3 separate regions of the Homo sapiens genome follow, and all the other regions are linked to region 1. The links are contacts of gene promoters, found by promoter capture Hi-C in human tissues and cell types (Jung and others, 2019). All regions are on one chromosome and are shown on one strand. The core of a region is centred on a gene start or on the middle of the fragment in contact, and the rest is flanking DNA. Distances in the headings are between cores, read along the strand shown.

Region 1 (4,907 bases), core at 1,763-4,262:
TGAAGTCTGTCCTCTGCTGCTCCAACTGTATTCCTTCCACAACTTTCTCTGGACCTAAGTCAACAAGAGCCTGACCCTCACTCAACCTCCTTGCCTGCCTTCCTTGTAGTGCCAGAAAAAAATCTCCTTGCTCACACAAAAATTTTCTTTTTCATTTGAAAATGGTCCGGGGCCAGGCGTGGTAGCTCACGCCTGTAATCCTAGCACTTTGGAGGGGCCGAGGTGGGCAGATCACCTGAGGTTAGGAGTTCAAAACCAGCCTGGCCAACATGGTGAAACCCCATCTCTACTAAAAATACAAAAATTAGCCAGGTGTGGTGGTGCGTGCCTGTAATCATCCCAGCTACTTGGGAGGCTGAGGCAATCGCTAGAACCCAGGAGGTAGAGGTTGCAGTGAGCCAAGATGGTGCTACTGCACTGCAGCCTGGGTGACAGATCGAGACTTCATCTCAAAAAAAAAAAAAAAAAAAAGAAAGAAAGAAAATGCTCTGGGGGAACTTCTCATTCAACTCTTATTGAATAAGAGGAGGATCCCGTATCTCCTACCCACCTACTTTTTTAGGGAATAATACATGTAGGTATGCTCTGGACGTGAGGCCATTCCTAACTGGGCTTGCCCTTTGGTGACATCCCAGGATCTGAGTCTGTGATCTGGTATAGCCTATTAGAAAGCCCCCAAAGTCTCCATGGAATGGCAACGGCCCATTGGACCAGCCCAACCAAGTTATACCTTACTTTCTCTATCTACAGGCTGCCTCCCCTGACATGGGAAGACAGACATCGAGGAGATCTGCTGGGCCCACAGGAGCTCCAAGGGAAATCACAGAAATGCTCGCCTTATATATAAAACTGCTTTATTAAAAAGTCAGCTATTAGGAAAACAAAGCCCTTACAAGGGTTCTATCAAAAAGTACAAATTTTAAATAAATGCATCAGAAAAATGGCAGCCAGATATACCAGCCACAGTCACAACCTCAAAGGCCTTGTGGGGAAGGAAGGGAGAATTAGGGAGGAGGTTCCGAGAACTCAAGGAAGAGGCTGGGCACAGAGGGTCTTTGGGTGCCTGCAGAGCTGGGTCCTGGAGCTACCAGGCAAGAACCCTGCTTCCGTTTTCCTTTCCTTGGAAAAATGTAAAGAACTGGCAGGTGTAGGAAATTTTGAGACTGGAGCAGAAAGGCACAAAAGTCATTTATAAGGTATGATTGCTCACTCTAGTCCTGAGGCACATGGGGTGGATAAATGGGGGATCAGAGCCACAGGGTCCCTGGCTCTGGTCATGCTTGCCCCTGGCTGGTACCATCTCTGAGTTTGGCCACAGGTTAAATTAAGGTAGACCAAGTGGACTGCATAATCCTGGCAGCCCGGGGTCTGGAGCCAGTCTTTAGATCAGATGTGTTGCTTCATTGGCAAACTGGTGTCTGCCCCCCAAGAGATCCCCCCAATGAGGAGCAGCAGGTCTCCTGCCTAGCCCTGTCCTCTGAGTCACTGTGGGTGCCCACCCTGGACAAGGAACTTCTGAGGGCAGTCTCTGCCATCCAGGATCCTGAGAAGCCCCAAGCCCCAGAGCCAGAGTTTCTCCGAATGACAGGCAGAAGCACAGAAAGCTGGCGTTGAAACCAGTCCCCACCAGCTGCTGGCCCCACACCCATGGTCACTGCTGACACGCCTCCTTGGTGACATTAGGCAGTGGGTAGGCAAAGAGGGAGAAGTCCAGGATATACTTAGGCAGCACATCCTGCAGCAGGGCCCGGGGGGCACTGCACAAGTGGTAATGCAGGCTTTCGGGGCTGGCTGGCCGGTACCAGGCCTGGCGAGCTGGAAATCGGACGTGAGGTGGTGCCCGTACCCACTCCAGCACCTGATTTGCATCAGCCTCCAGCCTCTCATAGGAGCCCACAAAGTCATAGTGCACGGCACAAGGCTGGCACAGGTGGTACACGGGCATCCAATGCTCATTCATGCGCTCAGGGTCCTCATCCACCAGGTATCTCAGGAACTCGGGGAATGTGACATCGTCGCCTGCAGGGCTGGGCCCCGCTCCAGCCCTGTACCGCCTCACTATCTCAGCCCCATAGCGTTGCTGGTACTCTCGGATCTCGCCAAACTTGTTGCGGTAGGCAGAGAGGAGGCGTTCCAAGGGCTCCCGCACAAACAGGAACTTAAAGTAGTGCTGCAGGCGGTAGCGAATCTCCTCAGGCCGCAGGTCGGCCAGGAACACCAGGTCACTGCGGTGGTCCATCTTGAGGCGGACGTCCACGCTGTCCAGGACGCCTGCCAGCACCTTCATCACCCGCTTCCAGTTAGAGCAGGCCACCTTGGGGACGTAGCAGTAGAGGAAGCGGTAACGGTCACTTACGAGGATGTGGCGCAGCAGGGTGCGCCGCTGCCCCACCGGCAAGTCCCAGGGGTCCCGGGGCATGCCTGGCTGTCCGCACACCGCCCGCAGGGTCCTGTTCCGGACGTCCTGCCGCACTTGCAAGTCCGCGTCCCCAGCCCTGAGGGACAGGCCCCCAGGCTTGGGGGCTTTCCCGCGCCAGGCTGTGCCCTCGCGGCCGGGCGGGTGCAGGGGCAGGGGCTTCATCTCGGCCAGGATGCCCCGCTCGATCATGAGCAGCAGCCCGCTGGAGGCCACGATCACCGCAAACATCAGCATGGACGGCAGCAGCAGGGGCGGCCCACCCAGCCCCGCCCGGGCCCTGCCCAGAGGGGCCCGCCTCAGCGCCCGGCCCAGGGGCTCGGCGCCATTTGGGGCCGCCAGCGGGGTCAGCGGGCGGGGGAACATGGTGCTCAAGGGGTGGGGGCCTGCGCGGGCCCGGCCGATCCGAGGGCGGCCTGGAAGGCGGGCTCGGGCTGGGGGCGGGAGGAGGGTCTGGGACCGGGGGTAGTTGGGGAGGGGAGGGCAGGGGACAGCCCTGGCGCGTGTAGGGGTGGCCGGCTCCCGGGCTGCGGCGCCGAAGCGGGCGGCGGGCGGCGGGCGCGGCGAGGGACCCGGGCCGGATGTCCCGCCCGGCCGCTCTCCACCCCCGGCCTCGCAGTGACACAGGCGCGGGGGCGGGCCCACGCCGGGGGCGGGGAGAGGGGCGGGCGCCCCTGCGGGGCGCGGGCTTGGGAGGGCGCACGCGGACCCCTACCCGGAAGAGGGCGCCTGAGTCAGGGCCACCCCTGTCCTCTGGGCTTGGGGACAAAAGCTCCTGAGACCTCGAAGGCAGAAAAGACTCGAGGCTGCTCTCCTGCAGCGTGTGTCCTCAGGGAAGTGGACAAGGGGGATTCGCCACAAACTCAGGCCTGTCCTAGCCCTTCCTCCAGCAACGGGTCTGGAGGCAGGGAGGCGGGCAGCGCTCTCTCCGAGTCCAGACGTGCCGGAGGCTGGTCTTTCCAGCTGGAAGCGGAGCCCTCGGTGTGCTCCCCCTTGCCACCCTTAACTCCCTCCGTCCTGCAGGTCGTGGCCACTCCAGGAAGGAGAAGCAGAACTGTCAGACACTGACCAGTCTCCATGGTGACCCTTGTGTTTAGCAATACCTGGGGACTGACTACAGTGCTTGTCCACTGGGTAATGCTGAAATGTCTGGAAATGGAGTCTCCCCTCCTCTGCCTTCTCCTCATGAGGCAGTGGGATAACTGGGCACTCTGGGGAGGGTCTGACACATTGGTCCATCAGCTGCTGGTGTGGCCAACACACATTTGGAAGGGTGAGGAGCTGGGGGCACAAAACAGCAGGGAAACAGCACGTAGTCTCCTTGCCTGGAGCTAGATGTGTGCTCCATGGCACCAGGCTGGTCACTTGGGCGGACAGCAGACCCGAAGTGCTTTGGATGTCAGCAACCACCATTTCCCACTGGGAACCTGGCTCAGTAGCCAGACTTGGTCCAGCTATGTGCTTGCTGCCTGCAGAGAGCCAGCAAGCCTCTGAAGCAGCAGAGGAATATGATTAGAGCCCAAGTGTACTGAGGACAGCGCCCACTAAGTGTTTTATATTCATTATCTCCTTTAGTTGTTACAGCCACCCTGGCAGGGAGCTAGTGTGGACATTCCCTTTGTACAGCTGAAGTAACAGAGGCTCAGGGAAGATGTGACTCAGTATGGGTGGTTCTGAGTCTAAAACCTAAATTTCTAATCACGGCCCTTCAGAGATTAAAGGAGCATATCATGGAATGGCTAGAAGGGAGGAAGCAGCTGACTCGAGGGCGGACTGTACAGAGCAGGTGATGGAAAATAGAAGATACCAGTGGGAGAATGGAGCTACCAGTGATCAGATGAATTCAGAAGGGTGAGGGGACTTGAGGGATGAGGTGATACTAGAGGGCTCACTGATGACCCCACAATCCCAGCAACAGGAAAAGCACACAGATGAGCCAGGGGAAGGAACGGTAAAGCCTTGCAGCCTTCCAGCTCTCCAGGGCAGGCTCTCCACATCTGATTGCCCCAGTGCATCTGCAGGCTACCACCTGTCCATTTGCTGCACCAGAAGTTTGCGTGAAGGTTCTGCCTTGTCTACACTGCTCCTTGCTTCCAATAATCCTAAAGGTATACATTTCTGGTGATAGGATTTTCTATTAAAATCATATTTTCCAGTAAGTATGTCCTTTAAACCAGGAGAGGAAAAAAAGGCCTTAGACCTTTAAAAATCTTTTGATAATGTGGCCACATGTGCTCCCTTCTGTGTTACAGGGTAGTTTTCTGTGTTAGCAGTCAGGGTGAGGCAGGGGGAGTCCTTGGGCCTGGTACTTATCTCCATACCAATTTCTTGTCTGTAAGATAAGGACAAGCTACCACTCGCCTCAAGGGAGTCTTGTGGACACCACACTGAAGGCAGAGCTAGAAAAATCCATGGTGGTGTCTGTGCCACCAATAAATTCTGAAAAAATGTTCCTGCCCACATGCACCATGCCTTAGCAAAATGCAGAAGT
Region 2 (4,907 bases), core at 1,616-4,115, 230 kb before region 1:
GTGAGCCAAAATCGTGCCAGTGCACTCTAGCCTGGGTGACACAGTGAGACCCTGTTTCAAAACAAACAAACAAACAAACAAATAAACCAAAAGTATTTTGAAATAATTAGATTTATAGATAGCTGCAAATAAGGCCAGGTGCGGTGGCTCACACCTGTAATCCCAGCACTTTAGGGGGCCGAGGCGGGCTGATCACCTGAGGTCAGGAGCTCGAGACCAGCCTGGCCAACATGGTGAAACCTCATGTCTACTAAAAATACAAAACTTAGCTGGAACTGGTGATGGGCACCTGTAATCCCAGCTACTAGCAGGCTGAAGCAGGAGAATCACTTGAACCTGGGAGGCGGAGGCTGCAGCAAGCCGAGATCACGCCACTGCACTCCAGCCTGGGTGACAAAGTGAGACTCCTCAAAAAAAAAAAAAAAAAAGCTGGGCACAATATGGTGAAACCCTGTCTCTACTAAAAATACAAAAATTAGCTGGGCATGGTGGTGCATGCCTGTAGTCCCAGCTACTCGGGAGGCGGAGGCAGAAGAATAGCTTGAACCTGGGGGCGGAAGTGGCAGTGAGCCAAGATCATGCCACTGCACTCCAGCCGGGGTGACATAGCAAGACCCCATCTCAAAAAAAAAAAAAAAAAAAAAAGCTGGGCACAGTGGCTCATGCCTGTAATCCCAGCACTTTGGGAGGCCGAGGTGGATGGATCAGGAGGTCAGGACTTTGAGACCAGCCTGGCCAAGACGGTGAAATCCCGTCTCTACTAAAAATACAAAAATTAGCCAGGCACGGTGGCGGGTGCCTGTCATTGCAGCTACTCAGGAGACTGAGGCAGGAGAACTGCTCAAACCTGGGAGTCAGTGGTTGCAATGAGCCGAGATTGTGCCACTGCATTCTAGCCTGGGCAACAGAGCAAGACTCTGTCTTTAAAAAACAAACAAACAAACCAACAACAACAAAAAAAAACATACGAAATTTCTATGCACCTAGCCTTCTGCAGTGTTAACCTCTTGCATAATGATAGTATAGCACTGATATTAGAAAACTGACATTGGGGGCCAGGCATGATGGCTCACGCCTGTAAGCCCAGCACTTTGGGAGGCTGAGGCGGGTAGATCATCTGAGGTCAGGAGTTCGAGACCAACCTAGCCAACGTGGTGAAACCTCATCTCTACTAAAAATACAAAAATTAGCTGGGCATGGTGGCACTTGCCTGTAGTCCCAGCTACTTGGGAGGCTGAGGCAGGAGAATCACTTGAACCCAGGAGGCGGAGGTTGCAGTGAGCTGAGATTATGCCACTGCACTCCAGCCTGGGTAACAGAGTGAGACTCTGTCTCAAAAAAAAGGGAAAGAAAACTGACATTGGGCCAGGCAAGGTGGCTCAAGCCTATAATCCCAGCACTTTGGGAGGCTGAGGCAGGAGGATGGCTTGAGCTCAGGATTTTGAGACCAGCCTGGGCAACATAATGAGTGATGCCCCGACTCAAAAAAAAAAAAAAAAAAAAAAAAAATTAGCCAGGTGGTAAATGATCATAGTCCTAGCTTGGGGAGACTGAGGCTAGAAGATCACTTGAGCCCAGGAAGCAGAGGTTGCAGTGAGCTGAGACCATGCCACTGCACTCCAGCCTGGGTGACAGAGTGAGACCCTGTCTCGAAAAATAAATAATAAGGTCAAAAGCTTTATAGTTTTCCCTGAAGTCCTGAAGATTAGTGTGTACACAATGAGTAGTATTCAAACATGGAATGTTTTAACCAGTCATCAGGTTTTCAACCCTGTGGTAGAGTAGGTTATAATTACAGTTACCTCCTTAAGCAAAAGGAGCTTACTCTCTTAACACAATATTAAATGGAGACTAAATTATTTAATTTGCAGATAAGTTTAGTATTTTATAAATAAGGTCCTACCTTGCAGCAGTCTTACCTCTTCAATGTGGATACTTCCTTTATCTCTCTTTGTTTTTGAGACAGAGTTTTGCTCGTCACCCAGGCTGGAGTGCAGTGGCACAATCTTGGCTCACAGCAACCTCCGTCTTCCGGGTTCAAGTGATTCTCCTGCCTCTGCCTCCCGAGTAGGCATGTGCACCTACAGGGATTACAGGCATGTGCCACCATGCCCAACTAATTTTGTATTTTTAATAGGTTTCTCCATGTTGGCTGGGCTGGTCTCGAACTCCCAGCCTCAGGTGATCTGCCCACCTCAGCCTCCCAAAGTGCTGAGATTACAGGCATAAGCCACTGCACCTGGCCTTCCTCTATCTCTTTATCATTATCTAACAAGGAAATGCTACACAAATATTTCAGTTTTGTTTTATAACCTGGAAGCTTTCCTAACTAGAGTTCACAACACAGGATAAAGGATTACTACACCTTGAAGTAGTTTGTCAAGCTCTTTGGAGCCAGTAGTAATCTGTATGATCTCTGACCGCCTTTGGTGGAATTCAGTTGCAGTGGTGAAACCCATTGGAACTAATTTAGCTGCCTCAGCCTGGGAAAAATAAGAAATATTAAATCAACAAAATAATATTCCTTACCACAGTGATCTTGATGGCAAAAAAATATATATAAAGAAAAAAGAAATATTAGTAAAACAAGGTGTGCAATGGGAAGAGAAAATATCAAATAAAATTACCAGGATGATTTCTCTTTAGAAAGTCATAAAAAAGGATAATCTAATTCAGAGATTCCATGAAGATCAATTTTTAAATTGCCAATTCAAGTTAATATATTAATATAGTTTTAAAAACTATTATAGATCCGGCCGGGTGCGATGGCTCACGCCTGTAATCCCAGCACTTTGGAAGGCCAAGGCAGGCGGATCACAACGTCAGGAGATCGAGACCATCCTGGCTAACATGGTGAAACCCCATCTCTACTAAAAAAATACAAAAAATTAGTCGGGCGTGGTGGCGGGTGCCTGAAGTCCCAGCTACTTGGTAGGCTGAGGCAGGAGAAAGGCGTGAACCCGGGAGGCGGAGCTTGCAGTGAGCCGAGATCGCGCCACTGTACTCCAGCCTGGGGGACAGAGCGAGACTCTGTCTCAAAAAACAAAACAAAACAAAACAAAAAACTATTAGAGATCCGTACATATGTGTTTTGCCCAATTTATGACAAAAATGACAATACAGTACACCTTCATTTCCTGCTCCATCAACCGCAGACTGTATCCCTTAACTTCCTACTTTGTAAAAATGAGGACATTTGCCCTTCAATCTTTTCTCTCTCCATGGCTACTTCCCCACCTCTATCAGCTGTACCTTTTCTTTCATATTGTCTGGCTGAGAACATTCACATTCTATTTTGTAATTACAGATAAGTGTTCTGTAATAGCACTATGGGTTGATTCTAAAATTGAAAAGTAAGTGCATTCACAAATATGCAAAAATAAAGCAACACACTCCTAAATAAGCAACAAGTCAAAGAAGAAATGACAAGGGAAATCAGAAAATGTTTTTGCAATGAATGAAAACGAAGATATACCAAAACGTATGGGCTCCAAGAAAAGCAGTGCTTAGAGAGAAATTCATAGCTATAAACAGCTATATTAGAAAAGAAGGCTGGGTGTGGTGAATCACACCTGTAATCCCAGCACTTTGGGAGGCTGAGGTGGGAGGACTGCTGGAAGCCAGGAGTTTGAGACCAGCCTGAGTAACAAAGCAGCACCCTGGCTCTAAAAATGTTTTAAAATTAGCAGGGTGGCTGGGTGTGGTGGCTCACCTCTGTAATCTCAGAACTTTGGGAGGCTGAGGTGGGCAGATCACAAGGTCAGGAGTTCAAGACCAGCCTGACCAACATGGTGAAACTTCCTCTCTACTAAAAATACAAAAATTAGCCGGGCGTGGTGGCACGCGCCTGTAGTCCCAGCTACTCGGGAGGCTGAGGTGGAAGAATCACTTGAATCTGGGAGGCGGAGGTTGCAGTGAGCTGAATTTGCACCACTGCACTCCAGCCTGAGAGACACAGCGAGATTCCATCTCAAAAAAAAAAAAAAAAATTAGTAGGGCATGGCTGGGCATGGTGGCTCATGCCTGAATCCCAGCACTTTGGTAGGGTGAGGTGGGCAGATCACGAAGTCAGGAGTTCAAGACCAGCCTGCCCAATATGGTGAAACCCCATTTCTACTAAAAATACAAAAAATAGCTGGGCGTGGTGGCGTGCGCCTGTAGTCCCAACTACTCAGGAGGCTGAAACAGGAGAACTGCTTGAACCCGGGCGGCGGAGGTTGCAGTGAGCCGAGATCACACCACCGCACTCCAGCCTGGGCAAGAGAGTGAGACTGCATCAGAAAAAAAAAAAAAAAAGGCCTGGCGCGGTGGCTCACGACTGTAATCCCAGCACTTTGGGAGGCTGAGGCAGGCAGATCATGAGGTCAGGAGATCAAGACCATCCTGGCTAACACGGTGAAACCCTGTCTCTACTAAAAATTAGCTGGGCATGGCGGCACGTGCCTGTAATCCCAGCCACTCAGGAGGCTGAGGCAGGAGAATCGCTTGAACCCAAGAGGCAGAGGTTGCAGTGAGCAGAGATCACGCCACTGCACTCCAGCCTGGGCACAGAGGGAGACTCCGTCTCAAAAATAAAATAAAATAAAATAAATAGCAGGGCATGGTGGGGCGTGCCTGTGGTCCTAGTTACCTGGGAGGCTGAGGCAGAAGGTTTGTTTGAGCCAGGAGTTGGAGGCTGCAGTGAGCTATGATCACACCACTGCACTCCAACGTAAGTGACAGAACAAGACTCTGCCTCTAAAAATAAAAAAGATAAATCATAACCTAACCTTCCAAAGAAAAGCAAACAAAACAAAGCAAGCAGAAAGATGGAAATAATACAGGTTAGGGTAGAAACTATTAAGTAGAGGGCAGAATAATAGAGAAAAATCAATGAAACCAAAAGCTGGTTCTTTGAAAATATCAAC
Region 3 (4,907 bases), core at 1,228-3,727, 180 kb before region 1:
GAACCCAGGAGGCAGAGGTTGCAGTGAGCAGAGATTGCACTACTGCACTTCAGCCTGGGTGGAAGAGTGAGACTGTCTCAAAAAAATAAATAAATAAAAATAAATAAATAAAAACAAAAAGCATGTCTTACTGATGATTTGAATATGTACAGCGAGGGAGAAAGAGGTATAGAGTGATTCCTAAGTTTTAATTTTGGACCTGGACAGAAGGTAACGCTATTCATTGAGAAAAGAAACTTTCAAGGAGAATCAGGTTTAGAGGCCCAGAGATTGTGAAGATCCTACGTTCCAATACGGCCATGTTTGCCCATGGTTGGCCATGTTGACGCTGACTGGTTAAAGAGAAAATACCTAAAAGACACTGACAACTAGTAAACTCCAACAAAACAGCTGGGCCTCTGTCCAGTTACCATATAGTGATTTCCACCCTATATAGTGATTTTATCCTTTTAGATGATAAACCCACCTATACACACAGAACTTCCAATTAACTTGTTAGGGCCTCATTCTTTTTTTTTTTTTTTTTTGAGACAGTTTTGCTCTGTTGCCCAGGCTGGAGTGCAGTGGCACGATCTTGGCTCACTGCAACCTCCACCTCCTGGGTTCGAATGATTCTCCTGTCTCAGCCTCCCGAGTAACTAGGATTACAGGTGCATGCCCAGCTCATTTTTTGTAGTTTTAGTAGAGATGGGGTCTCACCATGTGGGCCAGGCCGGTTTCGAACTCCTGACCTCAGATGATCCGCCCACCTCAGCCTCCCAAAGTGTTGGGAGTACAGGCGTGAGCTGCAGGGCCTCACTCTTAAGTAAAAAAAGAAAAAAAAAAAAAAAAAGAATCTCCAGCCATTAGGGTAAATTCTCTATTCTCTATCACGAAAGATGGAGATGAAAAGAAAGAAACTCATAGTAAATAGACATGAGTAGCATGTTTATCCATTATTTGCAGAGCAAAATTTTTATTTAATGTAATTCAACAAAGGGCAACGTTCACTAATTCCATTTTTATTTTATTCTTTACAAAATAAAATAAAATTCTGCTATCAATAAAGTGACTGTTCTAAGACTTTCAGCAGTGCTCTCATCATGCCAATAGTTATCAGTATAGTAAAATAAAGATTTGAATCTTTAGTGAGTGTAGCCATTCATTTTTCTGTAAAAGAATTATCTCACTTTGGCTCCTTACCAACTGACTCTTCAAAGGTGATGGTGAGTTGTATCGTGTCATAAACAAAGGTGAATACAGCTTGATCATCACTCCACTCAACGACATCCCACTCAGACAAGCTGTAGAGAGATAAACAAGATTTTTAAAAAGCGTTTTTAAAATTAACATAAAAGAGAACTTCTGATACCACCCAAACAGTACCAACAGCAGCTGCTAATGTTTTTCCACTGGACTGGGAGAAAATATTTCAATTCATATATTGTGGATGTACAAACTTAAGCTTTTGAAATAACTAAGAACCCAATCTTGAGTTGTATATCAGAGAAACACCAAGTCTACGCAATGAAAAGTATAAAATATGGAAAAATTATAATTCCATAGTTCTTCTACTCTATTTCCAGCTTACTGTTGAGTACACTGACTCTTTTTGAAACAGCACTGTATAGGTTAAAAACAGCAACACATTAAAAATACATCAATTGCTCCAATCGGTTTAAACAACCACAAGGTACAGAATAAAACACAAACAAATGATGCCTGCATTTCCTTACCTCAACTGATCCAGTAGCTCTTCAGTTCTATTTCTTTGTTTTTGCATAAAGTCTATTTGAGCAAGGGTCTGCTCTTTTTGTACCTCCAGTTCTAAGAGATTTCTGCAAATAAAAGCAGGTATTCAGAGAGATAAGGTTTTTGTTAGAGAATTCACTCTATCAATATAAAAGGTTTATGATAAGAAGTCACATGCTACATGACTCCCCATTGAGGTAATAATGTTAGGTGTATGGCATCCATTTCTGCATTCTTAGTTTAGTTTTTTTTTTTTTTTTTATATAAGCATTAATCTAGAAGTGGGTCTACCTGGGAAAGGCATAAATCATTGTTTTTCAAATTAGGATCCATGAAGATATCCTTGGGATTCACATGTTAAGATAACTTTTAAATACTACATTTTTATTTTTGATAAAAAGCAAAAATATAAAAATATAAGCATAATGTAGATCATAAGATATACTTTAAAACTGAGACATGTCACAGTTTTTTTTTTTTTGCCTGTATTTGGTTTCGTTTAGTTGTTAGAGCTAAACAGAACATATCTTTGTTAATCATTTTGCTAGCATCAATTTAATTTCAGCCAAACACTATCACCTGTCAAATTAATGTTGTCAACTAGAATTTTAGTGGCTTTGTCATTATTTCTATTTACTTTCTTTTACACTTACAGTTGAATAAGATTCATAGGCCTAAGAAATATATACTTCATTTTATACTTGTTTATATTTACATTTATTAAACAAAAAGGATACTGGTAGTATTCAAGCTTGAGAAACACTGTTGTGGATAAATGCCCTGTAAACAATAAGTGCTTCAAAACTACTGTTGACTAAGATGGACTCTAGGTTTCCATTCAAAGTGGAGAAGCCCTGAGTCAGCCTCAATCAAGACTCATGTCCCCAAATCCTGTCAGTCTCTGGAGGCAGGAAGTCATCTAGCCTTCTGTGATTTAGCATTATATTTTCTAACACTTGGATTGAAGGCTGACCTTTGAAGCTCCTCTTCTTCAGTTTTCAGCTGTTCCAATTCTTTGGAAACAGAAAAAAAAAAAAAACAGAACAAACATATTAGAATGTTGCCACAAAAATCTGTTTTATTGAAAATTCTGACTTAATCTCACCAAAGTATATAAACAAACTCAGAACAGAAGGGCTTCCCCCACACCCATTTATCTCCTTAACTAATTCAATTACCTTTTTCTGCAGCTCTCATTTCAGAATCCCATTCTTCCACAGGATTGTTTTTCTCTTCATCCTCCAAATTCTTAGTTTCTAAAGTAGACAGTATTTGTTAGAATAATTCAGTGAAAAATAGTAAAAAAAGAAAACAAAGTAAGGAAAAAAAGAATAATTCAATCAAAAACAATTTATTAAACGACAGATTGTTTCTTTGGTAGTAGGAAGTTCAGAAGTTCTAGTCTGATGGTTTCTATTTTTTTTTTTTTTTCTGTGAAAGAGAAAGTAAGGTAGTCAACAAAGGGGTGAACTTTAGACTATGGAATTCATGTACTCATGGTCAATTCAGTGCAAAAAACATGTACTAGGCACTTACTCTGTATGAAATATAGTCCTAGGGACTCTGAAGGAGATGGAGAAAAAGAAGAGCTGATTCCTGCCTCCACAGAGCTTATAATTTAATCAGGAAGATAAACTATACAAAATAACTATAATACAAGTAGATGTGATGGGTAATATAAGAAGTACTAACAAAAGAGCCATGAGAGCTCAAGGAAAAGAGACTACTTTCTTTGGTGAAAAACAGAAAGAGAACGTAGTATGTAGTAGCAAAGACCAAAGTAGAAATGATCAGGCTAGTGGCATGTGCCTATAGTCCCAACTACTCAGGAGGCTGAGGAAGGAGGATTCCTTGAGCCCAGGAGTTTGAAGCTGCAGTGAGCTATGATCATGCCACTGCACCCCAGCCTGGGCAACAGAGTGAGACTCTGCCTCTCTTTTTTTTTTTTTAAATAAAAGAAAAAGGCAGGCGTAGTGGCTGATGCCTGTAATCCTAGCACTTTGGGAGGCTGAGATGGGCAGATCACTTGAGGCCAGGAGTTGAGACCAGCCTGGCCAAGATGGTGAAACACCATCTCTACTAAAAATACAAAAATTAGCTGGGGGTGGTGGTGCATGCCTGTAATCCCAGCTACTTGGGAGGCTGAGGCACAAGAATTGCTTGAATCCAGGAGGCAGAGGTTGCAGTGAGCAGAGATCATGCCACTGCACTCCAGCCTGGGTGACAGAGAGAGATTCTGTCTCAAAAAAGTGGCAGAACTGCATAAAAATAGCAATGTTTGGTTAGAATTTAAGAGGTGTATGGGAGTAGTAACAAATCATGTAAATCTGAAAACAACTGTAGAAGATATGAAATGTCAAGCTCAGAAGTTTGGACTTTTTTTTTTTCTTTAAGCCAACCACAGAGAAAGTTAAGTTTGGGCCAGGCGCAGTGGCTCACACCCGTAATCCCAGCACTTTGGGAGGCCGAGGCGGGCGGATCACCTGAGGTCGGGAGTTCGAGATCAGCCTGACCAACATGGAGAAACCCCGTCTCTACTAAAAATACAAAAAAAAAAAAATTAGCAGGGCCTGGTGGTGCATGCCTGTAATCCCAGCTACTCGGGAAGCTCAGGCAGGAAAATCGCTTGAATCTGGGAGGCGGAGGTTGCAGTGAGCAGAGATTGTGCCATTGACTCCAGCCTGGGTAACGACAGTGAAATACCATCTCAAAAAAAAAAAAAAAAAAGAAAGTTAAGTTTGGACTTTATAATAAATGGAAAGACAGAAGTTTTTCAGAGGAGTAACATTAATGAAAACTGTCTTTCATAATTATTAATCTGGCAGCAATGTGCAGGTTGGAATGGAAGAAGGTGGAATAATGGTAAGAATGTATAAAGATTAGTTAGAAGACTGAAATAGCACAGTTCAGAATTAAGGTGAGCCTTAATAGGAAAGGAAAATAAACACATGAGATGCTGAAGCTGCCGATGACAGGACTTGTTAAGAGAGCCTCAAAGACAATGAAAGTATTGAGCTTTTACAATGTATAAGAATTGTGACTGCTATACATAAAGATGAGAAACATCATAAGAGAGAACAAGTTTTTGAATTTTATTTTTGAGCTCGGAGAATATATTTAAATTTATTTATTTAGTTTGCTCTGTTGCACAGGCTGGAGTGCAGTGGTGTGATCTT

The links. Contacts are between HindIII fragments. The study calls those that stand out against the background at their distance.
Region 2: a contact is called between a fragment that was not itself captured here and the fragment with the promoter of CHST14 in region 1, in 2 of the 25 tissues and cell types used here (aorta and hippocampus).
Region 3: a fragment that was not itself captured here is called in contact with the fragment with the promoter of CHST14 in region 1 in 2 of the 25 tissues and cell types used here (lymphoblastoid cells and mesenchymal stem cells).

What each region holds. Positions count from the first base shown.
Region 1 is chr15:40,469,089-40,473,995 of GRCh38, reverse strand. It overlaps CHST14 (carbohydrate sulfotransferase 14), which reads right to left and starts at 3,012. Exons shown (of 1, transcript NM_130468.4): 1 at 838-3,012. The coding sequence starts at 2,782. The coding sequence ends at 1,652. RefSeq lists enhancers at 1,245-2,148, 3,431-3,540 and silencers at 2,601-2,850, 2,901-3,140. The HindIII fragment of the contact is 30,667 bases long and covers 1-4,907 here.
Region 2 is chr15:40,703,753-40,708,659 of GRCh38, reverse strand. It overlaps RAD51 (RAD51 recombinase), which reads right to left. Exons shown (of 10, transcript NM_002875.5): 4 at 2,366-2,483. Among named protein-coding and RNA genes, the nearest start is that of RAD51, 11 kb to the right of the region's middle. The HindIII fragment of the contact is 4,221 bases long and covers 755-4,907 here.
Region 3 is chr15:40,648,381-40,653,287 of GRCh38, reverse strand. KNL1 (kinetochore scaffold 1) reads right to left here. Exons shown (of 26, transcript NM_144508.5): 18 at 2,910-2,987; 19 at 2,705-2,744; 20 at 1,716-1,817; 21 at 1,183-1,283. Among named protein-coding and RNA genes, the nearest start is that of RAD51-AS1, 44 kb to the left of the region's middle. The HindIII fragment of the contact is 4,275 bases long and covers 340-4,614 here.